Regions from separate parts of the Homo sapiens genome. Here all the other regions are linked to region 3. The links are contacts of gene promoters, found by promoter capture Hi-C in blood cells and fetal thymus (Javierre and others, 2016). All regions are on one chromosome and are shown on one strand. The core of a region is centred on a gene start or on the middle of the fragment in contact, and the rest is flanking DNA. Distances in the headings are between cores, read along the strand shown.

Region 1 (4,373 bases), core at 803-3,302, 1.1 Mb before region 3:
GCCACTGCTCCCTACAGTGCCTTATGCTGCCCTCTCCCTGTGTCTGCTGTTTCCTATGCCACATCCGAGCTGCACAGCAACTCTGAGAAGCTGGACAAACAGACACTGAGCTCCCTGTTTAACAGATGAAGCAACTGTGAGACATCAAAGATGACGAGACCTGCCCAAGGTGACACAGTAAGCCAACAGCAGAATCAAGACTAGGGAACAGGTCTTTAAACTCCCAGGCCAGTGTTCTTTCCTCTAAAGCGCCTGGGTTTGCAAAGATCTCAGAGAAAAAGGTGTCTATAGCTTTTCATTCCTAGCCCCACAGGGGAGGCACTTTCAGCATCACTAACTGCAGTCTCCGTAGGAGGCTGGAGGACAAGTGAGAACAGCCCTTCTCGGGGAACAGGAGCAGAGCCCTGGGTGCTACTCCCGGCAGTCTAACGCCAGACCACCGCCTGCCCAGACTGTGCCCCCATTCTGCCCGCCTGCCCTCTTCCACCCACACAAATTAGGACATTGCAGGAAGGAAGGCTCTCCCTGAATCCAAGGAACACCCACAGCCTGCTGCCCTCGGGGCCTGATCACCGGCTCTGCCTCCCTCGGGGTGCTGGAGATTACTGGGGCAATAGAAGGGGAGGGAAGATGAGACTGCAATCTCAGTCCCCTGCCCGGTCCTGCCCCAACCTCGCCAGGGGCTGCCCCATGTTCAGCTCTTCCACAGCTCAGGGGAGCCCAGATTCCTGCACAGGAGCCTCCTCCGCGGAAGGAGGAAGGAAGCAGTTAGGCTCCTAAGGGCCCTTCTGTGCCTGCTCACAAGCTCCAGACACATCCTTCTAAATTCCCTAGAGCGCACTCTCTCTTCTCAGGGAACACAAAGGTCACTCATTCCCAGTGTCAGACTGTGCACAGGGAAGACCCCAGGATATGAGAAAGGGCCATTTCCTTCCGCCGGGATGGGGACGCCCGTGCACCCCTGTTGTGGCGTGGTTTGGGAGCACAGCAAAGGCCAGACTCTACCCTGGAGACTGCAGAGCTGGGGATGAGGCTTTTTCCAGCTCCTCTTGGGGATGTTCCTGGGGATACTTCCGCGGCTGCAGCGCCTGCTTCGGCCCACACTCCGGTAGCCCCCAGGTGTTAGAGAAAACTGCAGTAATAAAGACACCCCTATCCCCATGGCAGAGCTCAGACCTCTGACTGCAGAGAGGCCAGCCTTACCTGTGGGGAGGGAAGAGAAAACAGAAGTGAGGCTCTGAGCTCCTCTAGGGCAGTCAGCTTTGTGTCCTCACCAGCCACAACCCCTCCCCCCACAAAGCCACACGCACCAGCCATAAGCCCCACATCCTGCCTGGCAGAGTGACCTTAATGGACATTGGATTAATAAATGAATGTGCCCCTTCAACAAGGAAGCACACTGCTGTCTTTCGGGGTCACTTTCTTCCCTGGTAAGGTCACGGAACGAATTCTCCATTCTGTGGCCAGAGTCTGGGCTTTCCCTGATGGCCAAAGGCCGGCCTATGGCAGGAACTCTGGAATCCCTGCTGGCTCCCCTTCCCCCAGCCTCCTCCCGACAGGAATTCCAGGCCTATTTCCCATGGGGCTGCGCAGGGCCAGCTGGTGTGACCACGACTCCGTCAGAATCCCCTTCCGCATCGCGGCTGGCCGCGGGTGGCAGAAGCCCCACACCGCCCTTTTGTACTGATGCGTGTCCTCCGTCCACGCTCCCGGGCACACGGGTCCCGTTCTTGCGAGTGAGCCATTTCGGGTCCCACGCACGGCGCAGCTCGCGGAGCCTGTGCGCAGGTGCGCTCCCCCACCCCCGCAGATCCAGCAGCGTCCCCCCCCGCGCACTCACACACGGTCGCGCACACTCACGGTCACGCGCCCCGCAGGTGGAGCGGCCCCCCGCGGGCCCGCGGTGGCCCCGCGCCCCTGCCCCGGCCGTACCTCTGCGGCGGGCTGTGCAGGGACGCGGCGCCCGTCCATGGAGCCCGAAGGCCGGCCTCCGCGGCCCACTCTCGCTCCCCGCCCCGCCGCGGCGACAGCGGCAGGTTCGAGTTCACAACTGCCAGGCCCGTCCCCAACCTCCCCCCGCCGGGTTCCCAGCGCCACGTGACTACAGGAGCTGCCGAGGGTCAGTCGCCGGCTCCCGCGGCCGCGGCCTGGGGGCGGGGAGGGACTGCCGGGGCCGGGGCGCGGGCGCCCCCGCCAAGAGCGGGCCGGGTCACTCAAGCCACTGCCGCGCCAGGGCGGCAGGCCTCGGAGGGTCGGACTCCGTTGCCATGGCGACCACCAGCCCGGGTTTCTCTGGGACTGGCCGGAGCTCAAGTTTCCCGACCCTTTGTCCCTGCGGAGCACGCGCGTCCCCGGGCGACCGCGTGGCTGGCCTATGGTCACCGGGGTGTTCGGCCTTAGCTGCCTTATGAGAGGCTGGGAGCCCGTCGGGAGACTTCAAAGAGGGCTCCGGCAAGCCCCCGGAGCGTCGTTGCCCGGGCCTTTCTCAGGCCGCGCACCCCGGCCGCAGTGCGGACGCTTGCGGCCGCGGCGGTCCCGGGACGGCGGTGGCGCACCTGGAAGGCCCTAGCTTCCGATTTGTTCCAAAGTGGAGCACAAAAAGGCCCGATCCTGCGAACTTTGAAAAGGCCTCTCTTCACTCTTTTCTAGAAATTAAGAAAGAGCAGAAGTTGCTGGGCTTCCTCTGGCTGCGGGCCAAGCGTGGGGCGACGGCCGAGGTGGCCGTTGGCGCACGTGGGGCATTTCGCTTGGAAAGGCTCAGCAGCCTGTGTGGCGTCTGCGGTGGCAGGTGCGAGCCTGTGCCCATGACTCACCCACTAGCAGGTGGCCCTGGCTTTCCAAACTAAACACTTCCTGGGGTTTCCAGGGTAGTACAATTTCATGTACTTTCATGCTTTTCAACACAGGCAATTTTTGAATTGTATAATTAGTCGTAAAAATACTTTTTAAATCTATTGCATAAATAGGAAATAGGGGAACATAAAACTCAGTTTTACCTCGTAGAGTCAATTACATTTAATATTTTGGTATGTTGCCTCCGGTGTTTTCTCTACGTATATCCATGGCATGTCTGGCATAATTGGAATAATGCCTTGCGAAGATGTATTCTGCCTTCTTCACTTAACACGATCTTGTGAATTTTCTTCCATTTTATTAGATATTCTTTTAAACATGATTATTTATGGCTGTATAAAAGGAATATATTTTTTAAATGTTTTCTAAATTATCTTCCAGGAAAACGTATTAGTTTTCCCTGAGAAATGCCCATTTTCCATATACTTGACAACACAGACTTTTTTAAAAAAAAAATTTAGTTTGAAATGGTTATTTCTCATCTTTTGTACTTGCATTTCTTAGAGTACTAGTTAGCTGGATTGTTTTTTCACATGGTTATTTTTTGCCAGTTTTATTTTCTCTTGTGAATTTGTTTATGTCCATTTGCCCACTTTTCTATTTGCCCATTTTAAAAGTTGGGGAGTTGGTTTATTGTTTGGGGGGCACTCATAAAGTACAGGTATTAAAGACTTGTCATGTTTGTTGCAGACGTGTTTCCTCGTACTTGTTAACTTTTTTTTTTTTTTTTTTTGAGACAGGGTTTCACTCTGTCACCAGAGCTGGAGTGCAGTAGCACTATCATGGCTCACTGAAGCCAGGACTTCCTGAGCTCAAGCAATCCTCCCACCTCGGCCTCTGAGTAGCTGGGACTACAGGATCACATCACCACATCCAGCTAATTATTTTATTTTAATGTTTTTCTTCTGTAGAGATGGGGTCTCACTGTGTTGCCCAGGCTGGTCTCAAACGATCCTCCCGCCCCAGCCTCCCAAAGTGTTGGGATTACAGATGTGAACCACTGCATCCGGCCTACCTTTTCAGTTGTTGATGTGAGAAAGTTTTGCTTTAGTCTATGTGCTGCTGAAGCGAGCATAAGAAAGTTTTGTTTTATTTTTATTTTATTATTTATTTATTTATTTATTTATTTATTTATTTATTTATTTTGAGATGGAGTCTGGCTTGTCTCCCAGGCTGGAGTGTAGAGGGAGGTGTGATCTCGGTTCACTGCAAGCTCCGTCTCATAGGTTCTCGCCATTCTCCTGCCTCAGCCTCCCGAGCAGCTGGGACTACAAGTGCCCGCCACCACGCCCAGCTATTTTTTTGTATTTTTAGTAGAGACGGGGTTTCACTGTGTTAGCCAGGATGGTCTCGATCCCCTGACCTCGTGATCTGCCCGCCTTGGCCTCCCAAAGTGCTGGGATTACAGGCATGAGCCACCGTGCCCGGCGAGAAAGTTTTGTTTTAATGTGCCAAAACTTAGCAGTCTTCCTTTATGGTTTCTGCCTTTAGAGTTATGTTTAGAGAGGCTACCCGCAACC
Region 2 (4,361 bases), core at 300-2,799, 1.8 Mb before region 3:
CTCTCCAGGTGCACCAAGCCCAGACCTTCTGGCCCCTTCGCTCCCTGTCTCTCCTTTGATTGTCTGCTTTTCACTGTGCTAGATGCAACTGGGCCGCACAGTAGGAGCTAAATGAATGTATCTGGAACAAATGAAGCTTTCCCTGGCTACTAGCACCCACATGGTTATGCTCTTTTTCAGAATTGCTAGAACTCTTGCGAGCAAAGTCCTGCATAAGCAACCAGGCCCCCATGAGACACTCAGTCCCTAAACCAACGAATTGCCAGAGGGGCCTGGGCTGGCTCCAGATGCATGTCCCCGGCACCCATCCCAGACCCCCCCAGTCCTCATCTTTGAAGGGAACCTCAGCAGTGTGTGGTGCAGCAGGGCCCACGGCGGAATGCAGGGCCCGGCCAGGGAGTGCCCACCCAGGAACAGTAAGGAAAGCTCAAGAGAGCACCCTGGCACAAACATGGGGACCATCATGCCAGTCCTCCAGGATCAAGTCACAGGACGAACAGAAACAGACACAAACACTAAAACCCCAGGTGTGCCTAAGGGCTGAGGGCTGTGGGATGCCAGGGCGTATGCCGTTTTGTTTTGTTTTGTTTTTGTTTTTTTTTGAGACGGAGTCTTGCTCTGTTGCCCAGGCTGGAGTGCAGTGGTGCGATCTCAGCTCACTGCAAGCTCTGCCTCCCAGATTCACACCATTCTCCTGCCTCAGCCTCCCGAGTAGCTGGGACTACAGGTGCCCGCCACCACGCCCGGCTAATTTTTCGTATTTTTAGTAGAGACGGGGGTTTCACCATGTTAACCAGGATGGTCTCGATCTCCTGACCTCGTGATCCGCCCGCCTTGGTCTCCCAAAATGTTGGGATTACAGGCGTGAGCCACTGTACCCGGCCACATGCACCGTCTTACTCTCCCTCTGAGCTGCCACCCAACTGCAGTCACAGCTGTGGCCCCTTCTCTGTCTAGCTGAGGCTTGACCCAAACAAGAAACCCCCACATCTCTTTACCTTAGTCCCTTTAGGATGTCACCAAGCCCACAGCCCAGGGCAGGCAATCTGTGAACTGAATGAAAGTGAGTGGGGTAAGGGTGACAGTGAGAACGCTCTGCTGGCCAGGCCAGGCCGGCTGGAATGCTCGAAGTAACTGTTTAAAAAAAAAAAAAAAAAAAAAAAAAGCCCTAGTGGGAAAACGATGGAGAAACCTGAGTAAGTCACCCAGCTGACAAAGCCCAGCTCCGGCACACATAATAGTAGCCATATGGCACACACACCTAATAGTCAGGTCCACTTCCACTTCCAGGCGGGAGCCCCCCCCCCCCATCTGGGAACTGCCAGCAGGGATCCCAGGCCCTCCCCAAGCCCCTGCTCCTCCCCTGTGCCGGGCCCTCACCTGCACACAACGACTGGGACCAGCAGGTCCTGGAAAGATCCCGGGCTCCTTTGGGGCTCCTGGCTAGCTTGGTACAACATCCTGCGCTCCACGTGCCCAGTGTCCCCATTTGGACTGAGGCCCTCGTTCTCCTGCATCCCTCTTTCTAGGACTCAGCCAGGAAACCCAAGCTGTCAGGGAGCGCTCACTGCAGGTGAGTGCCAAGCCGGAAGCGGGCTCCTGTTGAAGGCCTATACTCTCCCTGGCTGTATCCGCTTGGCTCCCTCCCTTCTCTGAGCCTCAGTTTCCCCACTAGTGAGGTGAAGGTGGCTCAGAGGCTCTGCACATAGTGAGCCCTCCAGCTCTCCCTCCCAGCTGAAGGCTGTACTTCTTCCACTCCCTAAGGCCAAGTAATGGGCAGGTTTTCTCTTTCCTTGGCCTCTGGTGGGAAAGGAACTTTTCAAAATGGTCTCCCTCTCCTCAAATCCTGTCCTGAAACACAGGAAAGCCAAACATCCCCTGCTTCCTCCTGTCCTGGACACGGGGTCAGAAGTGACTGTGAGTGGCAGAGACTACAGGAGGCCCAAGTGCCCACTGCACTTCCTCAGAGCCAGATGGATCCTGACCGCAGGTCCCACGTCACCTTCAGAGCTGGGACAAACAAACCCTTCACCGAAGTCTAAACAGAGTGAGGGAGGCTTTGTTATACACTCGGAACTGCCGCCCCTTTCCACCGAGAGGCTTAGCCCCAGGAAACACAGGACCCGGCTCCCAGCTGACACTGTGTTTATGTAACAGCCTAGGTCTGTTCCGCCCTGGGGCTGGGGGTGGAGGGCTGGGTCTCAGTCCAGCCTCAGACTGTGCTCGGAAACGCCCAGGGAGTCTGCGCCTCTCCCTCCTCGCAGAAAGAAGGTGGGGACACCGCTTCGCAGGACAGAAGCAATATGGTTTGGCAGATGGAGAGGAGTTCTATCGCAGGAAGGATATAGGGCAGAAACTGGAGAAGGAGTGGTTTTTTTTTTCTTTTGAAGACTGCCTACAGCAGAAAAGTGGGAACGCAAGACGGGTGAGGTGGATAAAGATGACGGTGCCAGGAGAGGCTGGGCAGGGGGGAGGGAGGGACAGCAGGGCAGCAGGGCAGCAGGGCCCAGGAGTGGGAACAGCAGGGCTGAGAACGGATGTGTGAGCCGCGGCTGGGTCGGTCTGGTGACAGTGAGACACCGGCTCCCGGGATTTCACGAGGGTGAGGCCGAGCTTCCAGGCCTAGTAGACGGAACCATGGGGTATTTCCAAACCGCAATGGAGAAGTCGGTCAGGGGAGGGCTCTAGGAGGGGAAATTCTGCCTGTTGTGTTAAATTTAAGATCAGGCAAAAAAAACTCAAGGGCGCCCCAGGAATCAGCCTTCACATCACAAAAGATGCTCAACCAGAGGCTCCCCTGAGCTGGGGAGGAGGGGTCGCTGCTCATCAAGCTGGAGCCAGGGGAGCCCGGAAACCTCTCCCTGCTCTGGGAAAAGCTCGGAAGCAGATGTGCCCCCACCCTCCTGTGGCCGGCCCACGAGGCTTGTCGCCCTCCAGAAGGAGCTGGGGGAAGGTAAGCTTGGAGCAAATCAGGAATGTCTTTACTTCCTCCAAGGACAGTGAAGCTGCAGCAACGATGTCTCTCCCGCCTCCACCCTCTTCAGATCTAAGAGGAAAAATTGGTCATCTCCTGTCTTTGGGGCCCAGGGCTCGCACAAATGCCATCTCCTAGTCCCCAGCCACAGCGGTGATTCAGGCCATTTACTCAGATCCACGTTAATGAGTTTTTTCTGTCACCTAATTAGTTCACAGAGAACTCAGCCTTGAGAGGAAAGAAATAAGAACGGGTTGGGAAAAGGCAGAAGGAAGTCAGACTGGCATGTCACAACAAAAGATAGAACCCAGCACCACATGGGGTCCCCCCAGACCCAGTACTTCTTCCCCGGCTATGGGGACCTCTGAAAGCAGAAAGGGAGGTGTTCAGGTGCACTATCCCCCAGAACCTCAGGCAAGCAGATGAAGCTGGGAGTGGGGCCCTAACCTTAAGGCCCAAGTCAGGGACAGGCCCCTGCCCATAACTCCATGTTATCGCAAAAGGCCTTGGCTCTCACTGCATTTCCACTGAGGCCAAACCCACCACCTGCCGGTGGGCGTCCCCTTTCAAACAGAGCTGGGGGAGGAAGCAGATGGCCCAGGGTGAGGCCCATCTGTCCGTGCCCGCTCGAAGGTCACCATGCCACCGGGGTGCCTGCGGGTGCCTCCAGCACCCACCACACCAGGGCTTGCGAGGCATCTGCCAGCAGCGTGCCACCACTTCCTGTGCCCTCAGCGGTCGAAAGTCCAGGGCCTAAGGGCCCAGAGAAAAAAGCGCTAGGCAGCGCAGTGGCCGGGGGTTTCCGGTCCCCGACTCCGGGTGCGGTGTCCCTGGCGGTCGGTCAGCACCCGGCTGCCCAGCAGCTGCCTCCAGACCGAGGAGCCGCGGATCCCCGTCAGGCTCATGACCCGGCCAAAGCGCGGATGGACCTGCCGGCGCCTCCCACGCGGTCGCTGAGCCTCAGCCCAGCGCCAGGCCCGGCCCGCTCCCGCTTGGCCGCCGCGGCGTAGGGGGTGTGCGTCGGGAGAGGGCGCCGCGGCGAGCGCCACCCTCCGGGCCTGCGGGCGCTGGGCCCGGGAAGGCTGCCATCCACTAACGCGAGGCTCCGATCCCCCGCCCCACTGCGGAGCAGGGCCCGGGCAGCGGCTAAGAAGCCTCCCCGGTCACGACCCCACCTCCCCGCAGCTGAAGCCCTCTGCCGCGCCCACCTTCCCCGGCCAGGCCTGGACAGATCTGGTCCCGGCCCCCCCAAGCGACACCACCTTCGCGCCCTGGAACACAGTCAGCAGAAAACCCCCAACCCCAAAGTGTCCCCGAACGAGATATGGCGAAGCTGCCCGCCGGTTCTGCAACACAGATCGGCAAACCTCGTGGCCTGGTCCTCAAG
Region 3 (4,581 bases), core at 1,276-3,775:
TTATATTTTCAGTAGAGACAGGCTTTCACCATATTGGCCAGGCTGGTCTCAAACTCCTGACCTTGTGATCCGCCCGCCTCAGCCTCCCAAAGTGCTGGGATTACAGGCGTGAGTCAGTGAGCCACTGCTCCCGGCCTGGTAATCTTTTAAAAACACAAATAGATCATTTCAGTACCCTGCTTAAAACTCTTCAATAGCTTCCCAGTGTACCTGGCATAAGATCTAGACTTCTTCATGGCCCAGCCGACCTCTCTTGACCTTGAGCCATCCAGTTCCTGTCGTGCTCCAGCCATGCCAGCCTCCTGTGGATTCCGAGGACCCACCCGGCCCTCCTCCAACTTCACATCAGCTCTCAATATGCATCCTCTGTATGCCTGAGTCTCTCTCGTTTTTAAGATTCTAGCATAGACAACGCATCCTAGAGATTTTCACTGCCCCTCCCCCTTAGCACTAGTAATCTATAATTGCTTCATTCATTCAATAACAATTACTGAACACCTATCATAGTAAATGTACAGTGAAGATGAAGAAAAAACTGATGTGGTTCTTCCTTCTCCAGGAGAAAAATTCTGTATAGGAATACTTATAAACAACAACAGTGTGATAGGATGGGCTAACAAGAGTCCAGGGCAAATCTGTCCCTTTTGGGGAGTTTTTTGGGATCTCAAGTGCTGCAAGAAGGGAGGAGCAGGTGGACAGGAGTGATCTGAAAGGTAGTGAAGCAGTGAGCCCCAGGCTAGGGGGAGTGGATGATGTCACCTTCTAGGGCCCCCTCTTCCCAGGGAACAGGACTATAAACCTGCAGAATCCTCAACGCTTTTTCTCTCCCTTGCACTCAGGGAACCCAAAAAGAAGCTCAGCACACTCACTAAGAGGAGGGAGAGGAAGTTATACTTTAATAAAAGTATCCAGAAAAATCAAGGTTTCAAAACCTTCACTGAGGTGTATTAATAATAGTAGGTATCATCTATTGAGCCTTTACAAGCGTTTTCCAGTATGTCAAAAATGGCCAAAGGATTATAATCTCCCAATTGGACATACTGCACTATATCAAACCAAGATTCTAAAATCTGCTAAACTGGCCTAACTTATATAGATGAAGATGCCAAAAAAACTGATGTGATTCTTCCTTCTCCAGGAGAAAAATTCTGTATAGGAATACTTATAGTGTATTCTTATGAATAAACTTATTCATATAGATATGTATCTGGACAGATAGATAGATAGATATAAATGAGACAGGCACCTGCGCCTGTAATCCCAGCTACTTGGGATTGGGAGGCTGAGGCAGGAGAATACCTTGAACCCGGGAGGCAGAGGCAGAGGTTGCAGTGAGATGAGATCCCGCCACTACACTCCACCCTGGGTGAGAGTGAGACTGTGTCTAAAAAAAAAATATATATATATATATATATACACACACACACACACACACACACACACACACACACACACGTATATATATATACTTTTTTAATTAAAAAATTTTAAAATGGCCGGGCGCGGTAGCTCTCGTCTGTAATCCCAGCACTTTGGGAGGCCGGGGCGGGCAGATCACGAGGTCAGGGGTTCGAGACCAGCCTGGCCAACATAGTGAAACCCAGTCTCTACCAAAAATAGAAAAATTAGCCAGGCGTGGTAGCAGGCGCCTGTAGTCCCAGCTACTTGGGAGGCTGAGGCAGGAGAATCCCTTGAAGCCGGGAGGCGGAGCTTGCAGTGAGCCGAGATCGTGCCACTGCACTCCATCCAGCATGCGCAACAGAGCGAGACTCCCTCTCAAAAAAAAAAATTAAATAAAATCTGCTACAGTAATCTTTTTTAAAAAAATCTACTATCTCTCTTGTAAACGACACAATCTTTCTCTTTGGCAAAAGTAGAATATGAGGCGTTTTAAAGTGTCTAATTCCAAAATCCCTGCCCCGGCGTGAGGCTCCCGCCTCTAATAGATGCGTGACCCTGGGCCTGTCCCTTCCCATCTCAGCCTCCGCTACTGTCCCGTGGGGCTGGCGGCCCCTGCCCGCCCAGCCTGCTGTAGGGGGGGCCGCGAGGCCTCAAATGGGACAATACTCCTAAGGCGCGGCCTCCTCGTCGCCGAGCGTGACTCTGGGGCCCGGCCTGGCTGAGGCCGCAGATGGGCCGGATCGTCAGCCGCTGACGTCGGGGCCCCGCCCGCCGGGCCTGGCATTTGGGCCGCCCGGTCAATGCCTTCGACGCGGGCTGGGCGATGGGCCGGGGGCAACGAGCGCGGAGGCTGCGCGCAAGGCCCTCTCACCCCGCGGCCTCGCGCGGCCAGAGTCCCTCGCGCGGGCTCACGCGGCGGCGGCCTGGGCCTTCCGGGCGTCCGCGGGGCCGAGGGCGCTTACCCGGGCAGGCGCCGCTTCGGCCATGGCTGCCCGCGTCCCTCGCTGGGTTGCAGTCCCTGGACCCGGCCTGTCGGGCCCGGGGCGGCGCGGCAGCGACGGCGGAAGCGGAGCGGGACCCGCCTAACCTGAGAGCTACTGCCGGGCGGCAGCGAACTGCGTCCCGAGCCACGTGCCCCGCTGGCCCTTTAAAAAAGAGCTGCGCTCGGCGGCCGAGCTTGAGGACGCGCACAGCGCCCCCTGCAGCCCGTAGGACCGCACGCCCGCGGCCGCCGCCCCGCGCCCTCCCGAGGCCTTCAGCGCCCGCGGCGTCCGGGACCCAGGCGCGGCCACCCACCCTCACCCGGGGCGCGGGAGTTGACGCCAGGGCGGGCGTGCCACGGCCTCCAGCGGGGCTACGTCAGGCGTAAGCCACTCCCGGGCCAGCGCGGCGCCCAACCTCTCTCTGCGTCCCACGCGGGAGCCGGGAGGGCTGCGGGAAGGAACCGCGCTGGAAAGTGCGAAACCTCGCGAGGGAAAGCTGCGTGGGGAACGGGGTCGGCCCTCGCCGGGGCTCCAGTCCGGACCGAGACTCTGTTGCAGCGCCTCCCACGCACCACAGAACTGAGTTGGGGAAAGTAAAAAGGATACGTGTGTACCCAGGGAGAAGCCAGGGAAACTTACATGAACGTTTTTAAAGTCTCTTTTAAATTTGACAGAACAAACGTGAAGATGGTAGGATTTTTTTTTTTTTTTTCCTAAGCCTGCCCTCCCCTCCTGAGGACTCTGGGGTCCCTTCCTCCTCCCGGGGCCCGCCTGGTGAAAGTCCTCAGCCACCCACGAGGACCCTTCTGTAGCTTTGGTCCAGGCTGAGATCACAGCAAGTGTGAATCAGTCCATCCCTCATTTAGGCCCTGAGGCATCTTGAATAAACCGCAGGACCCATTTTCCTCGGCCTGTGCTGAGGCATATTGAACTAAATGTGCTGTATGCAGTTGAAGCTTTGTTTTCTGTCTTTTCTGCATTTCCCATTCATCTCACAGTCTTTGTCCAACAAGCTGGCAAACTCTTCCCGCTAGAAATCTGCAGTTTTGTTTCTTTCTGTGTTTGGGTTTGTTTGGGGTTTTTTGGTTTTGGTTTTGTTTTTTCTTTTTTGGGGGGGGGGGGTGAGGGTGAGAAGTTATTTTCACAAATATTTGAGCCAAGCAAAAGCGTGGTCAACTATCAGAAAAAACACAAACTGATATCCTAAGTAAGGTGAACCCCAAAATTTGCGGAAAGGTTAGGACGTGTTACTTTAAGGTAACAAATCAAATAAATATTTGGCATTATTCATTTTGGAAATTCTTGTTGAACTATCCCAATCTAAAACACAAACTGCAAGTATGCACTAAAGACATTAAGAGCATCCCTAGGATCTTATCAGGGATCAGTCCAATCTATTCAGGATTATAAAATACCAGTAAATGGTGACGTTATAGAATAACAGTTAAGGTCCAATGCAAACAGAAAGGGTCAGGAAAATGGGCCAGGAGCCGTGGCTCATGCCTGTAATCCCAGCAGTTTGGGAGGCTGAGGCGGATGGATCACCTGAGGTCAGGAGTTCGAGACCAGCCTGGCCAACATGATGAAACCCCATCTCTACTAATACAAAAAATTAGCTGGGTGTGGTGGTGAGGTACTCTGGAGGCTGAGGCAGGATAATCGCTTGAACCCGGGAAGCAGAGGTTGCAGTAAGCCGAGATCATGCCATTGCACTCCAGCCTGGGCAACAAGAGCAAAACCCCATCTCAAAAAAAAAAAAAAAGAAAAAGAAAGAAAGAAAGGGTCAGGAAAATGGGCTGGAGACAAAAATGCTAGGATTTAATGAGCTCTGTTGAGGAAAGAGTGCTATAATGTTTGACAGCTAGTCTTCGTTTTTTAGAAAAAAAGTTTCTCTAAGTCAGTGGTACTCAAACTTCAGTGTGCATCATGTTCACTGAGGGTTCTTGTTAAAAATACAGGATGCTAGGCACAAACCTCAACATTTCTAGGTCTGAAACAGGAGGGGATGAAAGTGATGCGAATTTGCAATTCTAACTAGTTCCCAAGAAATGCTGATTCTATTGGTCTGGTGATCACAGTTCGAAAACCTTGGCACTGTTTATCAGGGTCCCACAGCTACCTCCCATTCCCATGCTCAGATTTTATAAATATATTTAATAAACGAACACTTTGCACCATAATGTGGTTTCTGAGCAGA

What was found. Contacts are between HindIII fragments. The CHiCAGO score rates a contact against its expected background, and 5 or more counts as called.
Region 1: the fragment with the promoter of REPIN1 here is called in contact with the fragment with the promoter of ZNF783 in region 3 in 2 of 17 cell types (total B cells and erythroblasts); the score reaches 10.0 in total B cells.
Region 2: a contact is called between a fragment that was not itself captured here and the fragment with the promoter of ZNF783 in region 3, in 1 of 17 cell types (naive CD8 T cells). The highest score is 5.6, in naive CD8 T cells.

What each region holds. Positions count from the first base shown.
Region 1 is chr7:150,366,501-150,370,873 of GRCh38, reverse strand. REPIN1 (replication initiator 1) reads right to left here and starts at 2,052. Exons shown (of 3, transcript NM_001099695.2): 1 at 1,933-2,052; 2 at 1,006-1,203. The coding sequence starts at 1,162. It overlaps REPIN1-AS1 (REPIN1 antisense RNA 1), which reads left to right. Exons shown (of 4, transcript NR_183429.1): 3 at 18-169. RefSeq lists enhancers at 64-868, 869-1,674, 1,675-2,479, 2,519-2,578 and silencers at 1,139-1,288, 1,799-2,268. The HindIII fragment of the contact is 10,402 bases long and covers 1-4,373 here.
Region 2 is chr7:151,087,185-151,091,545 of GRCh38, reverse strand. All of the region lies in intron 1 of AGAP3 (ArfGAP with GTPase domain, ankyrin repeat and PH domain 3), which reads right to left. It overlaps LOC124901778 (a long non-coding RNA gene), which reads right to left and starts at 2,543. Exons shown (of 2, transcript XR_007060595.1): 1 at 1,381-2,543. RefSeq lists enhancers at 1-366, 367-872, 998-1,507, 1,508-2,018, 3,516-3,675 and a silencer at 3,896-4,165. The HindIII fragment of the contact is 2,822 bases long and covers 139-2,960 here.
Region 3 is chr7:149,260,140-149,264,720 of GRCh38, reverse strand. ZNF783 (zinc finger protein 783) reads right to left here and starts at 2,525. Exons shown (of 6, transcript NM_001195220.2): 1 at 2,364-2,525. The coding sequence starts at 2,387. It overlaps LOC124901769 (a long non-coding RNA gene), which reads left to right and starts at 2,380. Exons shown (of 2, transcript XR_007060582.1): 1 at 2,380-3,074. RefSeq lists a silencer at 2,058-2,927. The HindIII fragment of the contact is 3,928 bases long and covers 1-3,342 here.